4 separate regions of the Homo sapiens genome follow, and all the other regions are linked to region 1. Evidence: promoter capture Hi-C in human tissues and cell types (Jung and others, 2019). All regions are on one chromosome and are shown on one strand. The core of a region is centred on a gene start or on the middle of the fragment in contact, and the rest is flanking DNA. Distances in the headings are between cores, read along the strand shown.

Region 1 (3,655 bases), core at 629-3,128:
GCAGATGCACTCAGCTCAGCATACACACACACACCTCAGTGCACATACACACACATATCTCAGTGCATATACACACATGAGCATACACACACACATACCTCAGTGCACATACACACACCCCAGCAGACACCCCAGCAGACACACATCCCAGCAAACACACACACCTCGGTGTACACACACGCGCCTGTGTATATACACACTGACACACACACACCTCGATGTATATATGCACACCTCCTTGCACAGACACAGATACCTTGGTGTACACGGACACACATATACCCCTCAGCATACACACACATACACCTCAGCATATATACACATACACTCCTCAGTGTACACACATGCCTCAGCACACACACACCTTCAGCACAAGCACACATACAAACACACCTTGGCTACACACACCCATCAGGGTATATACAGACACCTTGGCATACACAGACATACACATCTCCGCAGACACACCCCCCCTTAACACACACACACACACACACACACACACACTCACCAGAAAGGGGTGGGAAATCCAGTGCAGCTGTGAGGACTGCCCTGGGAGCTGGGCCAGGAGCTACCTGCCCCTCCCTGAGGGCCTTGTCCCTGCAGTTCCCTCCTGGTCAGGCCCTGCTCTCTCCAATTCCCTCTTCAGTGTTGACTCTCCCCACCCAGGAATTCCTGCCCAACCTCCCGCCCTAGGGCTGTCCTGGCATCGGGCCAGGTTGGCTGAGTAGAAAGATGACAATCCCAGGGCTACCCTTTCTCCTGTGTCCTGGGGATTCCTGCTCACAACAGCACACAGTGAATGCACGCTGCCCTGAGGGCGCAGTCTGAATGGGGTCAGAGTCTATAGGGGCGCGGGCACACCCAAGCAATTCCCCAGTGAGATCCGCGGAAAGGGGACTGTATCTGCAGGGGCAAGGGGGGCGGGCGGATTGGGGAGGAGCTCATTCGAGGACACCCTGAGGCTGCAGGGCAGGCAGGACAGGATGGGGACCAGCACAGGATGGGGACAGCCTGTGACTCAGACAGGCAGGAGGTCACCAGAGGGGCCAGGGAGGACCAGGAGCTGCTGTGGCTGCTAATAATATGGGAATGGACCTCTGCTGAGCACCTTCTGTGTGCCAGGCATTGAGCTAAATGTTTTTAAAACCTCACTTGATTCTCCAAACAGTAATGCCTACCACACACCTACCCCATGAGGTAGGTATTATTTTTGGTTCCCACAGGGGACACAAGGGACAACGAGACTCAGAGAGGGGAAAGCATTGGCCCAAGTTCACACGCCTCACAACTGGGCAGTAGGTGGAACGGAACCCAGGCTGTGCGGAGGGCTTCCTTGAGGTCGCGGCAATCAAACCCAGACCCTGACTTGCCCTGCAGCCTCCCCCGTGGAATTTCTCACATTTCCCTGAATATTCCAGGCCCGTCTCACCTCCTGGCTGTCCCTTTGGCATGAAATGGCCTTCTGTCCTCAGTCCCTTCTCTGGGAAAACTTCCACCCATTCTCCAGAGCTCAGCCCCCAGTGCAGCCCCGTCACCTCATCCTAGGATCACCCCACCCTAATCGCCCTGCGTTTCACTGTCGGGCTGGGCCCCCCTCCTCAAGGGCAGGGTCTGCCGGCCCCACACAGCAGCACAGGGCAGTCGTGAGTGAATGTGCCTTGTTGGTGAATGAATGCAGGACCCAGCCCGGCTGTGGGTCAAAGTAGGTGCTCAGGGAGGGGCCGGGGCCCCCCCTGCCTGGCTCTTATCTCCTAGGGCTGTCTCGAGCCTTATCTGATAAGGCCTGACAGGTGAGCAGATGAGACTGACAGAGGCTTCCAGGTTACTCAGTAACCTGCCCTCTTTAAAAGTCCCGCCGCTTCCCCCTGGCATCCAGAACAGCCACCCCTCTCTCGGGCACTGCTGCCATGAATGCCTTCCTGCTCTCCGCACTGTGCCTCCTTGGGGCCTGGGCCGCCTTGGCAGGAGGGGTCACCGTGCAGGTGAGTCCTGTGTCCCTACCCCGGCCCAGCTGGCTCCCTGCCCCTAGTGCCCAGGTCTGGTCCCCTGAGAGAGTACCTCCTCTTTGGGGCTGGATTGAGGGTGTGTGTCCCAGGCTTGGCCTTCTTCGAGGAGCTCCTGCTCAGTCCAGCCACACACACACCTTTCCCTTCAACTTTGGAGGAGAAAGAAACCCAGTGGAGGGAAGAGGAATAACCATATGGGGAAGGCGGGGAGTTGGCCAATTTACTGAGTGTCCTATGTGCCGGCTCCTTCCCCAGCCCCTCACTGTGGCTCCACTATCAACCTGGAAGAAAGGGATCATTAGTCCCATTTTACAGAGGGGAAAACTGAGCCTCACAAAGGTTCTGTAACAGGCCATGGGCACATGGCTGTGGGAAGTGCAGGAGCTGGATTTAAATCCAGACCTTACTCCTCAGTGGGTCCCAGGAACCACATGGACACCCTGGAGGTCCTGACAGATGGGTATGCCTACCAGTGCCAATGCTGGCGACAGGCCAAGCTGGCACCTAGCGGGGGCCCTGATCTCTATCAAAGCCAGATTCCGGGAGGCCTTTTATTGCTTCTCAAACCAAAACCAGGCTGCAGGCTGGAGCTGGGGGCCCAGTAATCAGCCGCACCGCTCTCAGGCAGGGGAAAGACAGCCTGGGCTTGGCCACGTGGAACTACGATGCCTGGGTGCTGGTCCTTTGCCTCTCCCTAAAAATCAGCACACTGGCTCCTACTCATTAGGCACCTATGGTGTTCCTGGAGCTTCACACCCATTTTCTCCATTCCCCATACAACATGCAGAATTTGCGGGTTCCAGAGTGTCCAGCATCACGGAGCCAAGCCAGGACGTGGGGCCTGAACTCTGCCCCTCACAGTGCCCCACTGTGGATCGCCTGGCTCCCATATGCCACGAACACTGCCTGTGAGCACCACTGGGCTGGACCGGGGCCAGCACGGGGGGCACAGCCAGGAAGCAGGCTGCAGCCTGGCCTCATGCTCTGGGCTTCTCTCTTCCAGGATGGAAATTTCTCCTTTTCTCTGGAGTCAGTGAAGAAGCTCAAAGACCTCCAGGAGCCCCAGGAGCCCAGGGTTGGGAAACTCAGGAACTTTGCACCCATCCCTGGTGAACCTGTGGTTCCCATCCTCTGTAGCAACCCGAACTTTCCAGAAGAACTCAAGCCTCTCTGCAAGGAGCCCAATGCCCAGGAGATACTTCAGAGGCTGGGTGAGCAGCCTCCTTCCTCTCTGATTGGTGGGGTTCGGGAATACTGTGGTGGCACTTGAGGAAGAGATGTGCTCTGATTGGTGGGATTTGGAGGAAGGGCTCAGCTCTGACTGGTGGAACTAGGGAGCTTGGCTCTGATTGGTGGGTCTGTTCCATGCCCACTTCAATTCCAAGTTGTAACTGCTGAGGTTTGGGAACTAAGACCATTCATCTGGTCTTAGTTTCCTCTCTTTCTGGTGGAATCTCTGCTTTGATTGGTTGGTTTGAGTGGTCTGTGTGCCCTGGTTTGGGGCGAAAAGCCCAGTAGGTCAGAGTACGGGCCTGCTGAGATTCTCCTGGGGCTGGGTGGTGACGTACAAGCTCTGGGCCAAGGGCGGCAGGGGCCTCGCGAGGAAATGCTGGTTCTCACGAGGCTCCATCTCTGTTGTGCAGAGG
Region 2 (3,655 bases), core at 714-3,213, 330 kb after region 1:
CAGGCTCGGTAGCTTCTTTGAAGGATTTTCCTTTGTGTGTTTATCAGATCTTGGATTTTCCACCATGGTCAGCTTGTGGTTAGTTATTATCCAGATGAGCTGGGTACCACCCACAGAATGACTTGGGGAAAGGAGGAGCCACTGTGTGTGGACCTTATCACTGTGGGCTCAGGCGTGCTTCTTGTGTCCATCATGATGTTTGATGCCAGCAGAGTTCAGGAGAGGCTCTGGAGCCATGTCCAGCTCCTCCTTGAGCCCTCAGATTCTGCTGCTTTTATAATGGTAATTACAATCCTGGAGGGGCAGAGGAGAGGGCATAGACTTTGGAGTCAGTTGTCCCTAGGTTCAGGCCTTATCTCTACCATTCGTGCCTTTGTGCTTTGGACTAAATTCCTTAGCCTTTCTGAGCATTGTTTCCTTGCCTCTAGGATAGGAACAGTATCAACCTCTTACTTTAGTTTTTTTCCTTCTCTAAGCCATTGAGCCTCAAATTGAGTTGGTCAGTGGACTCAAGACCTCAAAAACCAGCCCCCTCATGTGGCTTTGCATTGTGTGGGAAGCTGCACTCCATGACCCCTAAGTTTCCTACCAATGCTGGAGCTATAAATTAATGTCAAGAACAAAATACTTTGGTCAGCAGGGCCATCCAGAGACCCTGGTGGACCCCACTTTTAGAGCCACTGTTCCAGGCATTTGCTCCTTTGAACTTGTTGAACCTGTACATTCTGGATTGGCTTTGGGGGCCCTGATAATAGGAAGACCTTGACTTTGCTTCTCATTGCAGAATACTTGAAGGGTTTATTTTAGCTGAATTATTTCCGTGCCTTCTCCCACCCCTAAAATGAAGAGCTTCTACTTGCATTTGTAGGATCTGTCCCTAGACCAGAGCCCTCATTTGTTCTAAGAAGGAGTTGGACTCCCAGTGCCCATGTGACAGGTGCAGAAGCAAAATCTGGATCCATTCCTAGACCTCAGCCAGACCCCTATGTGGGAGGAATAATGGGAGTGGAGGGTAAAATCAGCATTGGTTTTGGAACCAGACAGATCTCATTTAAAATCTGGGCTTCAGCATTTACTGCTTTAGTAGTTTGAGGGTGTATTAGGCAGTCTCAGTTTCCTTATCTGTAAAATGTGAATCAGAGATTGTTGTGAAGATTAAATTACATAACATTTAAAGTACTTGGCACTTTGAACACTTACTAAATATCTACTATGTGCCAGGCACCACTGCTTTGTGCTGGCTCAAAGACTCACATCCTAGAGGGAAAAAGACGAGTGGATAAGCAAATTTCTGTCCCCTTGCTTTTGAGTTTTCTGGTTTATAAAGTGCTTTCACACACACCCAGTAATTTTTGTTTTTTTGAGACTGGGTCTCACTGTGTCATCCAGGCTGGAGTGCAGTGGCATGATCTTGGCTCACTGCAGCCTCTGTGTTCTAGGCTCAAGTGATCCTCCCACCTCAGCCTCCCGAGTAGCTGGGACTATAGGGGCACACCACCATGCCTGGCTAATTTTTTAAAAAATTTTTGTAGAGACAGGGTCTTGCCACATTGCCCAGGCTGGTCTTGAACTCCTGGGCTTATGTGATCCTCCCACCTTGGCCTCCCAAAGGGCTGGGATCACAGGCATGAGTGAGCCTGTGAGGAGAGGTCACTTAGCCATGGTCTCATTGCCAGCATTTGCCAGGGCTGGACCAGAGGCTAGTTTCTGACTTTTAGCAGGAGTTCCTTCTTCTGTACTTTTACAACTGAAAGCCTGAGCCATAGGCTAGAAGCATCAACATCACCTAGAAATAGTTAGAAATGCAGATCTCGAGGCTGACCCCAAACATTCTGATTCAGAATCTGAATTTTAAGAAAATTGAGACAGCTCTAGTGTAGTGGATAAATGGCAACGCTCTAGACCCTGACTGTCCAGATTCCAACCCTGGCTCCATCACTTACTTATTAGTTCGATGACTTTGGGTAGATTAGGTAAATCTCAGTGCTTCTGTGTCCTTAACTCCAAGGTGGGGTTAAGAGTCCCACCTCAAACTGACTGTTGTTTGGATTAAATGAGACAGATGTTAAGAGCCAGCATTCCTTGAATGCTTGCTCCAGGCCAGGTGAGGTGTTCACTGCCTCCCATGAGCACAGACTCATGCCTGGTGCACAGGCAGCCTCAACCAGTGTTCACTTTTTCATTACCTCGTGGGACTTGAGAAAGAGACTTAGTTCTCATGATATTTATGCAAATAGGAGAATGGTTATTTCACAGTGCTCTAAAGCTTTGATGAACCCCATGTTGAACATATCCTTAACTGCAGCGTCTCACATGAAAGTTTTTCTAGCATTGGTATAATAATGAAATTGGCATCTGAAAGCCGATACTCATTGGATATTGTGAAATGCTCTGGGAAGCTCCGTTTCAGCATAAAAAACTGTATGATTCCCATAGAATGTAGTTTATAGACAGAACAATTCCAAGCTGAATAACCATGTAAAATTATAGGATGCTGGAGCTGTCACAATTTCTAGTGATCATCACATTCTACCATCTCATTCCGCAGATGAGAAAACTGAGGCTCAGAGAAGTCAGGTGGCTTGCCTGAGGTCACCCAGATGGTTAATGGCAGAAACAGAGCTGGAAATGAGGGTTTCCCACTCTCAGCCCAGTTCTTCCCACTATGAATGTGTGTGCAGATTCTCATTCATTCATTCAATAAATATTTCTTAGGAGCTTACATGGTGCTGGGTGCTGTTTAGAAGCTGGAGATAGTAGTGAGCAGTATAGCAAGGTATTTGTCCTCTGCAGTTCACATCCTCATGTGAGAGTGAGAAAAAACAATAAGAAAAAAAGAACAAGATGACTTCAGATGTGGATGACTGCATAGGAGGAGACAAAATGGGGAAATATGCTAGCAATGATTTGGGAATAGTTGGACAACACTGCCAGAGAAGTCATCTCTGAGATAGTACATTTGAGACAAGCCATGAATAAAGTGAGTCACGAACGCGTAGGGATAAGAAGCTTCCAGCAAGAGCCAACATACTCCCACCTCCCAGCTCTTACTCCTGGTACCCACTGTCACAGGTTGGCTTCCTCAGAAACAGACTCAGAGATGATGGATCTATGTGTAGGAAGTTCACTGGGGTGGGAGGGACACAGGGTGGGGGAGAGGGAAAAGTTGAACTGTGATGCAATTCCAACAAGGGCCTGAGTCCATGCTACAGAGTTCTGGAGCTGAAATGGCTCTTTAGAGTTGTCCCACATTGCGGCAAAGGAGCCAGGTCTTTGTCCCTGTGCGAGTGATCAGTCAGTGGATAAAGACTGCTTTTGGGAAAGGTGTATGGCCTTGGTAACACAGCTCCCTTCAGAATTCCTGGGAGAGACTCAAGTGTGAGCTGTCAGCAGACAACATTCCCAGCAGCCAGAAGAATGAGTGGCTCCATGCTGGAGGGGACCTGGGCAGTACCGCAGCATCCACCATAGCCTGTCATCAGGGCACCAAAGATGTATTGCTTGCAGGTTTCTCCCACTGAAGGACATAAAAACACCTTTCTCCTGTCTTATTTTTGCCTTGTTTGAATATTCATTTATTGGTCACATACTTGTTGACATTTACTGACTTCCAACTTATGGGATGGGCACTGAAGGGGCAGAAATGAATTAGGCA
Region 3 (3,655 bases), core at 549-3,048, 310 kb after region 1:
GGCTGGCAGATCACGAGGTCAAGAGATTGAGACCATCCTGGCTAACATGGTGAAACCTTGTCTCTACTAAAAATACAAAAATTAGCCAGGTGTGGTGGCACGTGCCTGTAGACCCAGCTACTTGGGAGTCTGAGGCAGGAGAATTGCTTGAATCCAGGAGGCAGATGTTGCAGTGAGCCAACATCATGCCACTACACGCCAGCCTGGCAACAGAGCAAGACTCTGTCTCAAAAAAAAAAAAAAAAAAAAAAAAAAAAAAAAGAAGAAGAAGAAGGTGCTCTCTCATCATTCTTCTGTACATTCATTTGTTCATTAGACAGATATGTATAGAGAATCTGCTGTGTCCCAAGCACTGTTCTAGGTGCTGCGGTTATAGTGGTAGACAGAAAGGTAAAGTTCCTGCCCTCTCGAAGCTCACATCCTACTTTCAGGGGGTAATGAGCAAGTAGATGATGAACAAATGTTTTATATAGTTCTAGGGCTATAAGGAGTGTAGAGAAGGCTGATGAGATGCAGTGTAACTGGCAGGAGGGGAGTGAGAACTACTTGGGTAGATGATCAGGAGATACTCTGCAAGAGGAAACATACAGAAGGAGCCTGACATGAGAAAACTGGGGCAGCAGTTTTCCAGGAAGAGGGACCAGCACAGGTCCAAGTTGAAACTCAGAATGGAATTTTAGGAAATTATATTCTTCATGATGGTTAGATCCTGTGGGCTATCATCACTGCAGTTCAACAATGTGGTGCCTAGTAGGAAGAGTTCTCCCAGGAACCCTCCACGTGTGCTATGGGATTTCTGAGAAAACCAGTTCTGAGTTCTAGGCAGTGGACTCACAGTTGAACTTGGAGGGAACCAAGAATTGCTTCCATCATAGCCTTACTAAGAAATGACCATGGCATGGCCTGAGTGCTTCGGCATGGAGGACCAGAAGGGGAAGCCCTAATTTGCCAGTTGCAGACTCTTGAGCCTTGTGACTCTAATGACGACAAAAATTAGGAGATTTTCTAGGACTCCACGTTTGCGATTTTGAGAGTAGTGCTGCTGGGGTTCCTGGTTTGGGTTCTATTGATTGTTTCATTGTTTCTGTGTGCAAGTTACCCTCTCTAAGCTTAGTTTAATTAATATTATATTAAGTGAGGTAGTTAGATTATATGAACCCTAAGGCTCCTTTTATTCTTAACCTTAAAATAAAAACATTTTGTAAACAGTTTTTCTTTGTGTGTGTGGTGGCCTTTTCTGTGCCTCTGCTTTGGATGAGGTTACAGGGCTGAGTGCGAGTGAGTCATTAGTGGTTCCTTTGATATAAGACAGGTGATACTATTGAACACTGTTGGTGGTAGACCAGTGGTTCTCAAAGTGTGGTCTCTGGACCAGCAATAGCTGGGCTTGGGAACTTGTTAGAAACTCTAGCTGTCAGCCTCCACCCCAGACCTACTGATTAAAAAACCGTAGGAGTGTAACCAAAACTCTGTGTTTTAACAAAGTCTACAAATGATTCTGATGCATGCTAAAGTTTAGGAACCACTAGAGTAGAGTATGTGCTTTAAGATTTGGGTCTACCGGCCAGGCGTGGTGTCTCATGCCTGTAATCCCAGCACTTTAGGAGGCCAAGGTGGGTGGATCCCAAGGTCAGGAGTTTGAGACCAGCCTGGCCAACATGGTGAAACCCCATGTCTACTAAAAATACAAAAATTAGCTGGGCATGGTGGTGCATGCCTGTAGTCCCAGATACTCGGGAGGGTGAGGCAGGAGAATTGCTTGAACCCAGGAGGCAGAGGTTGCAGTGAGCCGAGATTGCGCCATTGCACTCCAGCCTGGGCGACAGGGCAAGACTTGGAAAAAAAAAAAAAAAAGATTTGGGTCTACCACTGATGGATCCTTACATTCCAGTCACTGTCATGGTCACAGCAAGTAGTTGCATGTCTGTGCAAATATTGCAATAAGATGTTTATTCAGCTTGGCTTGGTGAACAGTCCTGTGACTCTAAAGCAGAAAATGTTCCTGGCCTGTGCTAGGACTGGACCCACACTCTCCTCCTTGGTATTATGTCCCATCCACTCCTCTAGGTGAGCATCTGCATGGAGGAGGGGTTAGCAAGGAGGCAGGCTGCTTCCAGAAGTTGTGACAGAGTGCTGTTGGATGTGCTTCTGGGGAGACTGATGTAATTGGAGAAGTTTGTGCATGGTTAGTTTCCACACATTTTTAAAGTATGAAACTGTCTTGGGTTTCTAAGTCCTTGGTAGATATATCTGCGTGCATCTGTCGTGAAGATCAGTGGTGATGAAAGGTCTCAGGTGCCATAGAATAAGCAATCTGGTGACCCTGCTGCACACTGAGTTTAGAGTTCTGATTCAGTTTGGTTTCCCTTATCTAAATGTCCACTCGTGAACTAGAATGAGGTGACCAGATGGTCCAGATCACCCAGGACTGCCCCGTGTTTCCCCTTCCTGTCCCTCTCAGTCTGGTGTCTCGGATTTGTTCCTGTGTTGCCCACTCCTGCTGGATCTTGTCCAGTCGAGGGACAAACGTCCTGAAGAATGGGAAGAAAGGAGGTTCTGAAGGCACAGATTCCAATACCATGCCAGAGGTTGAGGACACTGGTGCTTGAAGGGAAACTGGCACACTCTGGAGCCCCAAGAAGAGCTGGAGCTGGAGGCATGCGGCCCACGAAGGGTAGAAGTAAGTTCATTTCTCTGGTAGGGCTTAGGGGAGGGGTAGTCACAGGTAGGGCTTGGGATGTGGGGCTGGGATGGCTCCTACAGGGCCAGAAGGCAAAGAAAGGGCAGCAGATGGGCACAGCAGGGACAAGGGTGTGGTGAGGAATCTGACTGCTCCAGCCCAAGCTGGCATGGCCTCTCTGCTCTCGCCTTCTGCCCTCTTTCTGTAATCTTTCATCTCTGAGGATGTTGGGCCATTCCTGGGTCCCTCCTTCTTCCTGCAATTCTCTCTACCCTTCCACCCTGTTGCCCTCTCCCCTCCCTCGCTTCCTATTGTGTCCTGCCCACTGCCGATTCCATCCTCCTTATCTCATGTCTATCCATGATTGACATGATGGAAATGGCACAGTAGAGTCCAATGGTGATAAGCACTCTCCGTGTTTGCAGGTACCAGCCATGACCAAGAGCCCTTCACATCATCTGGCAATCCATCCAGAACCCACTGAATGGAGGACAGCACAGCGAGGTCTTTCTCATTTTGTAACTGCAAAAGCTGGAACAAGAGCCAGAGAAGCCAAAGAAGCAGTACAAGTCCAACAGCTTTTAGAATAACCCTGAGAAAATGGTTGAATTTTGACCAGTTTTGCAATTGGATACTATGAGAAGAGACCTTCCCTCCTGCACTGGATTTCATCATCATACCTGGAGGCCATTCCTCATGGGACTTTGGCCATCTCATATCCACCTTTAAGCATGTTATTCCCATTTCAGCTGTGGTAGCTCTGGGTATCCTTCCCTAGGAGAAAATATTAATCTTTTCTCCCTCTGAGTTCTGGATTAAACTGTCTTATCTGAAACTGGGTCACTTTAGGCTAGAAGCACCACTAGACATTCCTGTTCTCAGAAGTTGCCAAGTTCATGTCATATCTGTTTCATTGTTAACGGGATCCACTTCTGCAAGAGGCTGCCTGGCCAGATCAGTGTGTCTCCTGGTCAG
Region 4 (3,655 bases), core at 1-2,500, 270 kb before region 1:
TTATCAGATATATGATTTGCAAAAGGAACTCAAGCACTCTCCTTCTTCCTTCTGCTATAGATTTATTTTGCCAGTTGTGCATTTGGAACAGAGGACATTAGGACTTCAGGAGGCTACTTCCACCTGGCTAATATATTCTATGACCTTAAAAAGTTGGACCTGGCAGACACATTGTACACCAAGGTGAGCTGGGGAATGTGGGAGCTGAGCCTTCACTCTTAGGCTTGGTGTCTTACAACTTGTATTAGACTATTCATGAAAAACATACCATTCATGAGAAAGAGAGGCACAGAGAGATGAAGTGGCTTGCCCAAGACTATATAGCCTGATACATGATATACTCCATTTTCTTTCTTCCAGTGTCTCCACTACCAAAATAGACTAACCCTTAACATCCGTAGGGTGATTAACGAATAATGAAGGACAGGTCAGTAAGAGCCAAACCCCTTCAGATAGACTGTTGTATGCTGTGTCATACCCATAGCAGCAAGCTAATGTGGGCTTATTGAAGTGTGCGATAGAGAAGGAGATTTCCAAGGGAAGTCTGTTGCTACAAGATCCTGTCAAGGGATCCAAGAACATGAGAAATTTCCATATTTACATGTAAAATATTTTAAACTGTTTCCAATATATTAAAATGTCAGCTGTATCCATATAGTAACACCTCACTTAGCAGGCAATCATTTGTGTAATAAATGTGTAATACAGGCTTTCTGCTGATTGTTGATTCATGTTTTAGACCTGCTTCTGAGAAAGAGGCATTTTGCTGTAGTTTAAAAGCTTTAGAATCAGATAGACCAGGGTTTAAATTCTGGCTATGCCACTTAACAGCTCTTACCAGAAGTCGTGTGTGATCTTCTCTGAGCCTCGGTTTATTTACATGTAAAATGGGAATAATAAGAATATTACATCAGGATGTTGTGAGGATGTGAAGGTTTCGTGTTGTGTGTGCTATACAAAAGATAACCACTGTTATTAGACCCCACTAGGGCTACCCCAAGATGAGCTGCCACAGGCCCTTTTCAGCCCATCACTTGTCACACTTACCTTGGCCAGGCCTGTTTGGGCTCCTAGGGTTCCCTCTGCCTCCAGGCACAGTAAGAGAGAGAACCTCCAGGTTGTCCAGAAGCCCGGCCAAATGCGCTACTCTCCTCACCTGCCTGGTCCGACGGCTGAGGTCTGGCCTGCTTGTTGTATTACCATCTCTTTTCCCAACAGGTCTCTGAGATCTGGCATGCATATTTGAACAATCACTATCAAGTCCTCTCACAGGCTCACATCCAACAAATGGATTTACTGGGCAAACTATTTGAGAATGACACTGGCTTGGGTAAGTGGCAGTTTTCCCTGAAGGGAGAGCAGTGACTTCATCTCACCCAATACACAGACCTTGTCCCTAAGAGGGAAAGCAGCTGTCCCTGTCATGAAGCACACCATTGCCACCTTCCCCATGTTGCTGATGGAGAAAACTGAGACACGGGGATCAAAGAGATTTTACCAGTGTTGGGAAGAATTCAGATCCCTATCATCACACATAGCCATTCGGGGGTTACTAAGGGACAGATTTAGAGGGAAAAAAAGACCACATCAAAGCCCCCTGTGATTTCTGCAGAGCATCCATTTCTATGTTATCCCTCCAGGGCAGCAGTCCCAATCTCTCCCTGGCACCAGGGACCCGTTTCATGGAAGACAATTTTTCCATGGACTGGGGGGCGTGGGAGGAATGGTTTCAGGAGAATTCAAGTGCATTACATTTATTGTGTACTATGTTTTTATTATTATTAATATATTGTAATATATAATGAAATAATTATACCATGCATCATAATGTAGAATCAGTGGGAGCCCTGAGCTTGTTTTCCTGCAACTAGATGGTCCCATCTGGGAGTGATGGGTGACAGTGACAGATCATCAGGCATTAGATTCTCATAAGGAGTGTACATCCTAGATCCTTTGCATGCACAGTTCACAATAGGGTTCACGCTCCTAAGAGAATCTGATGCTGCTGCTGAACTGACAGGAGGTGGAGCTCAGGTGGTAATGCAAGCAATGGGGAGTGGCTGTAAATACAGATGAAGCTTTACTCGCCCCTACCACCCCTGCTCACCACCTGCTGTGCAGCCCGATTCCTAACAGGCCACAAAACAGTTCTGGTCCATGGCCTGGGGGTTGGGGACTCTTGCTCCAGGACACGTAAGCCAAGGTAGACTCTACACAGAAGGTGCATTGCTGATTTCTTCTGGTGCCTTAACTTCATGCTTTACTGAACAGTGAGCTTCTCAGTGGCAGGGCCCAGTTGGATTAAACTGTATTCCCCGGGCCAGCAAAGGGCTAAGTGTTGAATAGTACCGTACAGCATCATGCCCTCAGAGACAATGAAAAGACACAGAGGATCTAGTTTCTGCTCAAAAGAGACATACAGTGCAGTTGGTGATATAGAACCTATAGGCAATAACAAAAGAACATTCCTGTGAGTACAAATTATGTTACAAGATGAGTCCCAGAATGAAGAGGTGAGGACAGCTGGGTGGTGTTGAAGAAGGAAGACTCTTTGGAGGAGAGGTTTTGAGCTAAAGTTTAAAAAATTAATAACTTTATTGAATTTTCTCTCATTATGTAAATAGTTCATGTTATAGCTGAAAACTTGGAAATCATAGATATCCAAAGATAGCCAACCTTAACATGATGGTGTATATCCTTTTCGTCTTTTTCTCTAAGCTTAGTACTTGTATAAGTGCTTTTAAATGCATGTAGTGACTTCTCAGTAAATGATGACTAAAGTAGGACCAAAAACTACTGGGGAAAATAGTAAACAGACTCTCAGAGGGAAGCATGAAGGTTGTTGCTTACGCATCTATGGCCTAGACGAGAAGAGTTAAGCTGCTGCAGCTGCAAGAAGTCCCTTCCCCCAGTTCTCTCCTCTCAGCTGTAGAGTGGAATCTGAGTTGGACCCAAGGAATCTGCCTGTGGCAGATTATCTGTGTTTGTAAGCCCAAGAGATCTAGAGTTCAGGACTCCGAAAGAGAGAAACCTTAGCAACTTTGGGACCTGTGGGAGTGAGCCTATTTTTAGGCTACTCTGATAATGGCATGCTAAGCAAAGCTGGAAAGCGGTCTGAAACTCCTGCTTCGGAGCTTCCTGCTTTGCACCTGGAGGGAGTCCTCTAGGTAAAAAACTTGCTGTAATTGGTGCTATTTCCACCAGTGCCCTTGGGAAGGCTTCAGCAGACCAGGCGCTTTAACAGCTGAGTGCTTTTGATGAGGGCAGACTCAGTTGCCAAGAGCCTGTTTTTTCTTTCTTCCCCTTCCAATGCAGATGAAGCCCAAGAAGCAGAAGCCATTCGCATCCTGACTTCAATCTTGAACATTCGAGAATCTACATCTGACAAAGCCCCCCAAAAAACCATCTTTGTTCTGAAGATCCTGGTCATGTTTTACTACCTGATGATGAATTCTTCAAAGGCAAGTTTCCCTAAAAAAGCAACACGTCTAAAATGAAGGTAGAAATTCAACTAGTTGAACTCAAAATTTGTGTTTTGCCCAATTCCAATAGCTTTTGCCCTCAGAGCAAGCCCTCACTCCAAAGAGGTTCAGATGCTCACGATGTTTCTCCTGTGTTGAGTCTAGCCTGCATAATGGAAATTGGATTGTCTTCT

What was found. The method cuts DNA at HindIII sites, captures the fragments that hold promoters and counts their contacts. A contact is called where the count stands out against the background at its distance.
Region 2: a fragment that was not itself captured here is called in contact with the fragment with the promoter of GUCA2A in region 1 in 1 of the 25 tissues and cell types used here (dorsolateral prefrontal cortex).
Region 3: a fragment that was not itself captured here is called in contact with the fragment with the promoter of GUCA2A in region 1 in 2 of the 25 tissues and cell types used here (dorsolateral prefrontal cortex and lymphoblastoid cells).
Region 4: a contact is called between a fragment that was not itself captured here and the fragment with the promoter of GUCA2A in region 1, in 2 of the 25 tissues and cell types used here (aorta and dorsolateral prefrontal cortex).

The regions. Positions count from the first base shown.
Region 1 is chr1:42,162,968-42,166,622 of GRCh38, reverse strand. GUCA2A (guanylate cyclase activator 2A) reads left to right here and starts at 1,878. Exons shown (of 3, transcript NM_033553.3): 1 at 1,878-1,985; 2 at 3,013-3,220; 3 at 3,653-3,655. The coding sequence starts at 1,911. RefSeq lists an enhancer at 1,054-2,018. The HindIII fragment of the contact is 10,088 bases long and covers 1-3,655 here.
Region 2 is chr1:41,830,238-41,833,892 of GRCh38, reverse strand. All of the region lies in intron 1 of HIVEP3 (HIVEP zinc finger 3), which reads left to right. Among named protein-coding and RNA genes, the nearest start is that of HIVEP3, 87 kb to the left of the region's middle. The HindIII fragment of the contact is 4,895 bases long and covers 1-3,655 here.
Region 3 is chr1:41,847,896-41,851,550 of GRCh38, reverse strand. The region is part of intron 1 of HIVEP3 (HIVEP zinc finger 3); the gene reads left to right. Among named protein-coding and RNA genes, the nearest start is that of HIVEP3, 69 kb to the left of the region's middle. The HindIII fragment of the contact is 7,187 bases long and covers 1-3,655 here.
Region 4 is chr1:42,432,949-42,436,603 of GRCh38, reverse strand. It overlaps ZMYND12 (zinc finger MYND-type containing 12), which reads left to right. Exons shown (of 8, transcript NM_032257.5): 5 at 61-183; 6 at 1,219-1,330; 7 at 3,316-3,461. Among named protein-coding and RNA genes, the nearest start is that of ZMYND12, 21 kb to the left of the region's middle. The HindIII fragment of the contact is 6,264 bases long and covers 1-3,655 here.